2 separate regions of the Homo sapiens genome follow, and region 2 is linked to region 1. The links are contacts of gene promoters, found by promoter capture Hi-C in blood cells and fetal thymus (Javierre and others, 2016). All regions are on one chromosome and are shown on one strand. The core of a region is centred on a gene start or on the middle of the fragment in contact, and the rest is flanking DNA. Distances in the headings are between cores, read along the strand shown.

The links. The method cuts DNA at HindIII sites, captures the fragments that hold promoters and counts their contacts. A CHiCAGO score of 5 or more calls a contact.
Region 2: a fragment that was not itself captured here is called in contact with the fragment with the promoter of ABHD5 in region 1 in 1 of 17 cell types (erythroblasts); the score reaches 5.2 in erythroblasts.

The regions. Positions count from the first base shown.
Region 1 is chr3:43,688,329-43,693,294 of GRCh38, forward strand. ABHD5 (abhydrolase domain containing 5, lysophosphatidic acid acyltransferase) reads left to right here and starts at 2,610. Exons shown (of 7, transcript NM_016006.6): 1 at 2,610-2,711. The coding sequence starts at 2,665. It also overlaps a transcript of ANO10 not described here. RefSeq lists a silencer at 2,782-3,261. The HindIII fragment of the contact is 11,295 bases long and covers 1-4,966 here.
Region 2 is chr3:43,537,071-43,542,036 of GRCh38, forward strand. The region is part of intron 11 of ANO10 (anoctamin 10); the gene reads right to left. Among named protein-coding and RNA genes, the nearest start is that of ANO10, 82 kb to the right of the region's middle. RefSeq lists an enhancer at 1-10. The HindIII fragment of the contact is 3,777 bases long and covers 880-4,656 here.

The DNA of each region.
Region 1 (4,966 bases), core at 1,360-3,859:
CAACAGACACTCTGAGAGGTGGGATTGTAGGGCATCAGTTTCTGCAGACACACTACAAGTGTCTGGCAACACTATTGTGGAGGCTAAAGTAACTCCATCTCAGATGCTAATCCACAATGTTGATTTCTGAGTAACCCCAGTTTTGGGAAGGCCTCCAAGTTTTCTACTTTATCTATTGTTCCTTGTATAAGAGCATGTGACAGGCTGTTCTTACATTGTTATAAAGAAATACAGCTGGGCGCGGTGGCTCATGCCTGTGATCCCAGCACTTTGGGAGGCAGTGGAGGGAGGATCATTTGAGGTCACGAGTTCAAGACCAGCCTGGCCAACATGGTGAAACCCCATCTCTACTAAAAATACAAAAAATTAGCTGGGCGTGGTGGCGGGTGCCTGGAATCCCAGCTACTCAGGAGGCTGAGGCAGGAGAATTGCTTGAACCTGGGAGGTGCAGGTCATAGAGAGCCAAGATCATGCCACTGCACTCCAGCCAGGGCAACAGAGTGAAACTCCGTCTTAGAAAAAAAAAAAAAAAGAATTACCTGGGACTGGGTAATTTATAAAGAAAGGTTAATTGGCTCATGGTTCTGCAGGCTATACAGGTGCTGGTATCAGCTTGGCTTCTGGAAAGGCCACAGGGAGCATTTACTCACGGCAGAGGGCAAAGCGGGAGCAGGCATCTTACATGACTAGAGCAGGAGCAAGAGAGTGAGGGGTAGGTGCCATACACTTTTAAACAACCAGATCTCACAAGAACTTACTATTGCAAGGACAGCATTAAGGGGATAGTGCCAAATCATTCATGAGAAATTCACCCCCAGAATCTAATCACCACCCATCAAACCCCACCTCTAACACTGGAGATCACAATTCAACATGAGATTTAGAGAGGACAACACCCAAATTGTATCAGAGCACATACTTACCTACCTGCCCTTAGGTCAAAACAACCTTAGTCTGGGAGGGTAACAGCACAGAGATTTACCTGTCTTGCTGCTGTCCAAGACCATGCTTCTGTCCGTAAGTTCCCTAATAAATCACCTTTTGCTGACAAGCTGGATTTGTCTCCTTCATTCTTTAGTTTCTCAGCTCCTTCTGTATTTGGAGGTCACTTTGAATATACGGCCCTTTCATGAAACAACCAGGAATTCCTGTAAAAATGTTTTTTATATGTTCTGGTCTTCCCTAAAATATTTTATGAATTAGATCAAACACAATAAAAAATGTATTAGTTATTACTATGCCTAAGAGATTATAAGTGGCTTTCCCCCCTCTAAATTACAGAAGACACCATTCCTATCCTAGAGGACTTTCTCGTGTAGTTGGAAAGATATTCGATAATGTTTATTTAAAAGCTGTAACAATTACACAAGGCTGAGAACCTGAGAGCTAGATGGGTGATAAAGACAGGTTTACAGTGGGGCTCAGAGGAGAGAAAAAGAGGGAGGAGAGTCAGGGAAGGAGAACAATGAACTGAGTCTAAAATAAAGGTTAATATATTCGCGTAGGATCTATCAAAACAGGAGCAGTATTTCAACCCATTGTTTTCAAGCACCTAGAACAAAGTGAGCCCATAGTAGACACACACCAAACATAAATGGATGAGTAGTAGTGGGTGGCAGAATTCCAAAAGCAGGTTGCACCTGATTGCTAAAAGGCTTGAAAACAGGTCAAGAAATACTGCTATTTAGGTTAGTCATTTCACCTCAATAACTCGAAGTACCTAAACATAGACTTTTTTTTTTTTTTTTGAGACGGAGTTTCGTTCTTGTTGCCCAGGCTGGAGTGCAATGGTGCGATCTCGGCTCACCGCAACCTCCGCCTCCCGAGTTCAAGCGATTCTCCTACCTCAGGCTCCCGAGTAGCTGGAATTACAGGTATGCGCCACCGCGCCCGGCTAATTTTGTATTTTTAATAGAGACGGGGTTTCTTCAGCTCAGGCTGGTCTCCAACTCCCGACCTCAGAAAATCCGCCCGCCTTGGCCGCCCAAAGTGCTGGGATTACAGGCCTGAGCCACCGCGCCCGGCCAACACCGACTCTTTTCACCCTCCCAGGTATCTAGAGAGTCGAGTGGGAGGGAAATTGCTGGCTCTGGCCACTACAGTAACATCAGCACCTAGAGCAGTGCTCAACTGACTGAAGGCTCCTGTGAGTCGCCCTCTCCCCCTGGCCCCCCAACCCGCGGGGAAAGGCTGGCGGGACGCCACACAGCACCTCGATTACGCCATTTCATTTGCCACTGCACCATCTATCGGACACTAGCTAGGCTCTTCCAGGACCGGACGCACCTCCGTCCCCAAGGTGCCACCTGACAGCCAACACCGACGGGGTGATGCATGAATACAGTCATTATTCAAATTAGCTAAAACACCTAACTCATTCGGGTGAGTCTCGCCAGTCCCTCTGGGCTGACTGTCCCGCCCCGCGCTTACACCCGGGAGCGTCGGGCGGGAGAACTAGTGCATGCTGGCTGGGGATGGCGGACGCAAAGCCGGAGGCAAGGCCGCGCACGCGCAAACGCGGGCGCGCCGCCGGGCCGTGCTAGTGCGCGGAAGACGCATGCGCTGGCGGCCTGCGCCGCCTTAAGTGCCGCGCCAGCCCGGGGCGGCCCAGTCGGCCTGTCAGCCGGCTTCGAGATAAGTCCCGGCGCTTGCGCGGCGGCGGCTATGGCGGCGGAGGAGGAGGAGGTGGACTCTGCCGACACCGGAGAGAGGTAAGCGCAGCCGGCAGGGGGCTTCGTGTGTCTCCGGCGCGCACCCTCCGCGCGGGCCGGGTTAGGGCCCAGCGGGCAGCACCAAGGAGTCGCCGCCCGCCTGGCGACGACGGGCGGCTTCCTCGACCCTCCCCGGCATGAGTCCGCGCGGCGCCCAGAGGCGTCCCGGCGCCGCTCTGCCTGGGAGAGGCTCCCCTCAGCGTCGGGGCCCCGAGGTGTCTGAGCCGGACTCCGGCCGCGCCGGGAGGCCGCCTTGACCCCGCGCGGAGGGTCCGCCCCGTTGTTGTATAAGCCACCCCGCGGGCCGGCGACGGAGCTGGCCGCGGCGGCCGCACCGGCTCGGGCTCTGCCAAGGGACCCGGCCTGCCCCAATGCCGCCGGCGGGCGGTGCCCGGTCGACCCTGCACCTGACTGCGAGGCGCGGGAAATGACCGGGTCTGTCAGCCTCCCATCGCGGCTTCCGTCTACAGGTACTACCTGTGCTCTGTCCAGCCTCAGCCACTGGACGATCCTTCCCGTAGCCGTAGGAAGGGGCGGCGCTTCCTTGGAGGGGATATTAGAGGCCCGAATTCGCCCGGGAAGCGGCGGGAGGGCGGGGGTGCCGGGAAGGAGGGAGGGGAGAAGGAGTGAGGGAAGTGGGTGTATGGCTGTGAGTTTCAGATACTTCATAGAAAGAAAGTTAGCCCTTAAGATAGAGATACACGTTCAAATGTCATAATTCATCTTTCGGATGAAGGTCTTTGGCTTGCAAGCTCCACTGTCCCTTATTTGTTTGCGCTTCTGGGATTATTCTGGCTTTACTGGCGAAGTGTGTGTTGCATGTGCCTTAGAAGAACACACATAATGTATAGGAAACTGTGGAAGTTGGAGGGCAGATGTCTAATGTGAAACTTTTTTATATACAGGTATAGTGAGTTTATTCTTTTCTACACCTAAATGACTTCTTGCACTTGTTAGTAGAAGAATAGTAGTTAATGAGTGGAATAATTAAATTGTTATGGAGGTTATTGCCTTGTTTCTCAAGGCCTGTCGTTTGTATTGGAAAGTAAACTTCCCCCATATATATTTAATTTTTTGACGTCGGTTCTACTTCAGACGTCTGGAGAAATTTGCCTAGGAAACATAACCTAAATGATAGAATATGGAGTACCATGAAGACAGGGATATTTGGAAAGATGTCATGGGGAAAAATTGTGAAATATTAGAAAGGAAGTTATTCTCTTGAGTTTTGTTTATTTGTTGAGGTTTGTTGATGAACTTCCTCGTTGCACTGAGGTGAAATGTTGAATGTCATGTGGACGCAAGTAGGAACGTAATTGGTAGGTTGTGTTCTCATCTTGTTTGTCACAACATTTTTGACTCTTGACACTACTTTCAGGTGGACTATTTGGTTTTGATGTAGTGGGGCCTTGGAGTCCAGGACACAATCGTGAAAGGGTTTTATGGCTTGGAGTGATGGTTGGAGGTCATTGGAGGTAGATGATTAAAAAATCCTTAGCAGCTGATCAGCCATAGTTTCTAGACAGAAGTGGGCTTCGCTGGTATTCTTGGCAATATGCTTTAGCAGTGTCCAGTGACTATCCCCAGAAGTGATCCTGTTAAATCCAAGGTTGCCCCTGTGTGCTGGGTATTATTGTTCCCATTTTGCAGTTGAAACTGCCACTGTAAAGGCTGCTAACAGCCTGCCAGCAAGTAGCAGGGCTGGATTGGAACCCTTTGTGGAACCCTTTGAGGTGTCTGGATTTAATCTAAGGTGCTTACCCTGTATCCCTGCTGCCTGTCACTGGAATTGGGACTCATGTGGGATGTTTGGCTCTTGTTTGAATACAGTTCCCTACCCTTAAGACATTTGAGGTTTAGATAGGGAGATAACATTAACAAAGGAAAGTTATAAAATGGTCATCTGATGGCTTTTTGGAGAATATGATTCTTGTCCTTTGCTTTGTGGCACTTAGTGAAGACAGGCATACTGGGATCCATTTTGCTTTCAACATCCAACCCCTTTCAGTTGCAATACAGTTGAGAAAGCTAAATGTAATGAGAGTAGAGTAGACTTCTGTGAATTGCTTTAAGTTGTCCTAGAGAATGATTTAGTGTCAATTGAGTTGAGAGAAAGCTGTCACAGAATTGCTCAGTTGCAGGGTAGACCATAAAAGAGGTGATTTGCAGTTGTGTGCTGGAGTTGATTTGTACCAGCAAGCCATTGCTAAATTTTCAGGAATTTTGCCAACGGTTGGCAGCTTGAAATTGGCCAT
Region 2 (4,966 bases), core at 1,518-4,017, 150 kb before region 1:
TAATGTCCAAACGTAGACTAGATGTATATTACAGCAATCTCCGGGACAAATTTAATAGCAAAGAGAAGACAATGCCAAGAGCTCTACCTGTCATCTTGCTCATATGTCCTTCCTACACACTCAGTGGGTAAGAGGCTTATAGGCTGTGGAAGAATATCATTGGTCTATCAGAGAGCTCCTCTTTCCTTGGGTTTCCTTTTCCAGCATAAAAGAATATCAACAAACTGTATTCTTTCTACTCATATCCCACCTCCTTTTTGCTGTGAAATATTCCCTCAACCTGAGTTCCTTGTGCACCAGTGACCACATCACAGGCTTAATTATTAGCACAGATGGTGCCAATTAGTTCTGTGTGAAGTGCTGAAATGGAAAGGATAATAGAAGCATTACAAGCTTCCTAAAAATGGTCACAGCTGGGGCCCAATGATGACAGCTTGGGGGCAACCATATCTTTACATTCTGCAGCTCACCTTCCACCTCCTGCTCCATCCACCAGAGCAGAACCATGATCTCAGGCTCAGAGCAGGCATACTTTATAAACCACACACACACACACACACACACACACACACACACACACACGTAACTAATATACGTCAGATAGGAAGAAATTTTCTTAGAAAGTAACCAATATTCAAAAACCTTTCTTTTCTGTTCATTGTTCTTAATATCCTTAGAAATAGTCGATTTCAGTAACATAACATAATGGGACTGGGAACACATTTTATTAGTTAGGAGGAAATTATAGTAGTAGTATTAACATCTTACATCTGTAAGCACCCTGGAGTCCACAAACCACCGTCACATAGTTTCTAATTTAATCCAGTCTTAGCCACATGGCACCCTGGAGGACTACAAAAGAAACTAAAGACCCTCTGAAGCTTTTAAGCTACAGACTAAAAAGGGTGGGGGGACAGAAGTAACAAGACATAAGAACAAATACAACATATCAAAATAACTAGAAACATTAAGATCTGGTCAAATTTATACCATTTCACCAAACCCAAAATACATAAATGTCTATGATACTAAAAAATGATAGTTAGACCTGGCCCTATTTTTGATATAAAATTTCAGTATAAAAAAAACAGCTAAGTGTTTCTAAAAGTGAAATTTGACGTAGCATACTAACACAGCATTTTGAGTTTGGGGTATTGTTAATGTGGGAAACCATTCCTAAAGAAATGGGTTATTGAACAGGGTCTACACATTGACAAATATGAATTTAAGAACAGCATTTTAACTGAGGAAAAAAAATAAGAAAAGAGGTATCAAAAACTGTACTGAAATGATCTTGCTTGTGAGTCCAGCTCTTCCAAAAGAAGGGTGAATTTATTTTCTTTGTATCTCCAGCACTGACTAGAAATTCAGAAAAAATTTTTAAAACGGAAATAAAACAAGTTATGTGAAAATACAGAAGGATACCTTAAAGAACAGGTTTTTTTAACAACAATTACTATGGCAGCTTTGTAATTCTGGCAGAAGAAAAAAACTGTAACGATGGCAGGCATAAAGAACTGGGATCTAACCCACAGGACTGAAGAAACGGAAAAAATGAGGTGGATTTGAGAACAATCAAGAGGAGAAGCTGAGGCAGACTCCAGCTGGTCTTTTGGACTTGAGGGTGGTTGGACCAGAGACAGGAGAGGCTAGATGCAGAGGGGGATGCAGGATGGAGAACGGCCTGCTGTCTACACACACAGGGGCAGGTGCTTCATAGACAAGAACTGTTTCAGCTTCCTCAACCCAACGAAGAGGCTGCTCCTGGTAAGGAGAGGATTGGAAGTTCAATCTCACAATAAGAAGATACAGTAAATTCAATCCACAATCTATTCATTTTTAGAGATCACTGGAATGGCCAAGTAGAATTTATGTTAGTGAATGAAAATGAATACTGCAGTCATGACTTTGAAAGTGTTTTTTAAAATACCATTTTGGAATAAAATGTAAATGGGCTATAAAGTTTTCATCATGACCTTAGAGCCCTCCATCAGTTTCCCCATCCATTACCTCTTATCCCCCAATTCATACTCTCCACTCTCCCTAAGAAAACCTACAGTCTCTTATTTCACCCCTCCTGCTCCCTCCTGGTACTGGAGCTGCCCCCACATTCCACTTTTTCAACGGGTCCCCTGCCACACAGAGCCACCTCAAATGTATTCCCATTAGATTTGAGACTGCTCAACACACAACTCAATATTGCAAAGAACAGGGGTTTCTTATGTGTTGCAAGTCTATTTTCAACTTTCTAAAGCAACACTTGCTTTCCAACCTAGAAAAAAAAAATAAAACCAAACGTGCTTTTTTATCTCCCCATTAAAATAGATAGGAAGTCAGAGAAAGAGGGTCAGTTTGACTCTGGATCAGTTCAGGCATCTGAAAGGAAAGTTAACTGTCATGCAAGAATGAGGTTAGCAAGCAGGTCCCAGAGGAGGGTGACGCACCTAGCAGGTCTGTTGTTGAGAGCGGGAAGCACAGGCTGGGGTGCAGTAGGAGACAGCAGAGGGAGCAGGTAATTGACAGAAGGTCTTGAAAGCATGAAATGAGAAGAGACAAGAGCAACAGTCCTCAAAGATGAATAACCCAAATCAGTTTTTTGTTTGTGGATATCTGAAGTATTTACATTTGAATATGGATACATATGATGTTCTGTGATTTCACTTTAAACAAAATAATGATGCCAGACTTTGAAATTATGGCTTAAGAGTACAGAGAAGCTGTTGAATTTTCTAATGCTTACCTCCTTTCAGACAATTGTTTTCTGAAAACAACTCTATTCTGAGTGTAAAACGATCTCTTGCAGAGGGGTGAGACTTGCCTTCTCCTAAACTTTCTTAGGCAAGAAACAGGTTAGGTTACCCACTGTAAGACCTTAAAAAATTGCAATGTAATCTGCAAAAACTGGATGTTAACTAAGTCATATTTAAACAGATTATACATTAACCATCAATTCCAAGGGCATTGGGTTTTTCAACAAAACAAGTATTTCCCATTACTTGACAAACTTAAAATCCTAATTTAGCACTCCCAAGGAACAGAAGCCCATTTAGATGACACAATTGGGGCCAATAATTCCTTCGTTAATCAAAACAGCTAAAATGCAGAATCATACAAAATGCATATATTCATTTTGTTTTAGCAAACATTTAAATGTACACTAATTTGCAAATCTTTTGCTGTAGAGCTAGGGCCCTTCCTCTGAGTAGGATCCAGTGATGGACTGTCTCACTCTCTGCTGCGCCTAAATAACACCTATAAGACAATGTCTAAGATGCCCAGGTTTGTTTTCTTTAAAGGAGAGTGAAAACTTAAAGACACTTGTGAAGCAATGTAAAAACAGAATCTGGCTGTCCATATTCTGATGATTTTTCCCTAATCTTTTATAATTGTCTCATCTTTATTCAATCTGACAGCAATTTGTCTTTATGAAGTCTTTCCAAAGGTTTTCATAGAAATGATGGCTCTATTTTAGCACACACTTTTCATCATTCTCCATTCCATTTCATTAAATTATGCCAATTACAGTAACAAGAATACCACACATAAACAGATTTGGGAACAAAATGCCTCTTGGTGAGCCATAAACTCAGTGAGTGGACATCTTCCCCATCATCCTCACACCAATGCCCACTCAGCAGGCCAACAGAGCCTGCACTAGTCAGGGCACTGTTAGGAGGGAATGGAGAGAGCTGGGTTAACAGGGGAAGGAGGTGAAGAAAGAGGCCTCCTATTGCACTGAAATGTATCTCTTGCATAATTCTGTCTGTGAGCATTCCTGAAGCCAGGGATGTATCATAGTAATGCCTAGCATATTTTAGCACATAATAAATATGTATTCAATGTAAGCATTTGATTTGACTAATTATTCCCACAACATTAGGAGAACACAGAGCAATGTTTTATCCAGATAACAGCTAAAGAGCCCATGGAAAGACTAGTAAATTCCAAGATTATCACAGGAATAAAGGAAACAAGAGGAGGAAGAAAAAAAACCCAGTTCCATAATTCTATTCAAAAGCACCCTAATCCAAAAATAAAAAACCAACCCAACTCATGCTCAACAATGGGAAATGGTGACCAGATTAGTAACTTAGTTTGTTGTGGGCTCCTTTGTAGGCTAAGTTTTAAACTGAATTCTCAGAACTTAATCAAACCTTTCAATTAGGTGAAGAGACTTCTATGACAACAGATTGTTTTTCAGAAACAATGACAATAATAGCTAACAAAACTAAACACTTAATCTTGCCAGGCACTGTACTAAACATACTGCATGCATTTATTCATTTAATCCTCCTAAGTTTGTAGAAGTAGGTACTCATTTGAAGACACAGAGCTAGTCAGTGGTGTAGCCAGGATTTGAACCCAGAACCTATGTTCTCAACCACTATACCATACTGCCCAATATAGTTTGCCTTTTCTTATAAATGATATAATTTTAATATTTTACTTAAGGGTTTTCTTAGTATACTTCTCAAAGGTACATTATCAAAGTCCTTATAATTATAAATTAATTCTTAAGTAATTGGCACTAACTATATGTACACTGAATAAAAAAACTATATATGACTCATTCATTAATTAATAAACGTTTAACAAGCAGTTACTTAATCACTTGAAAACAAAGAGTTAAAGTAACTCTACTGAGTTACTTTATGAAGCTTCTCAGTTACTGAGGCTTCATCATATGCTGTCCTTGCTCATGCTCTCAGGAAGCTCGATCTGGTAATGGAGCCACGTGATTGTCATACAGTTTTAGTAAATGATAACAGTGACTTTCACAAAGGGTCCTAGGTTATCCAAGGATGGAATGGAAGCCAGGGGAAGTGAAGGGGAAGGAGACTAACAAACATCTGGCATTCGACTAACGCATTTCTTCTGTAAGCCATGGACACCCATGTGAGGGCCACAGCGGAAGAGAAATATGATCAGAGTTTCATTTAGGAATAACCACTCCAGCAGTAGAGAG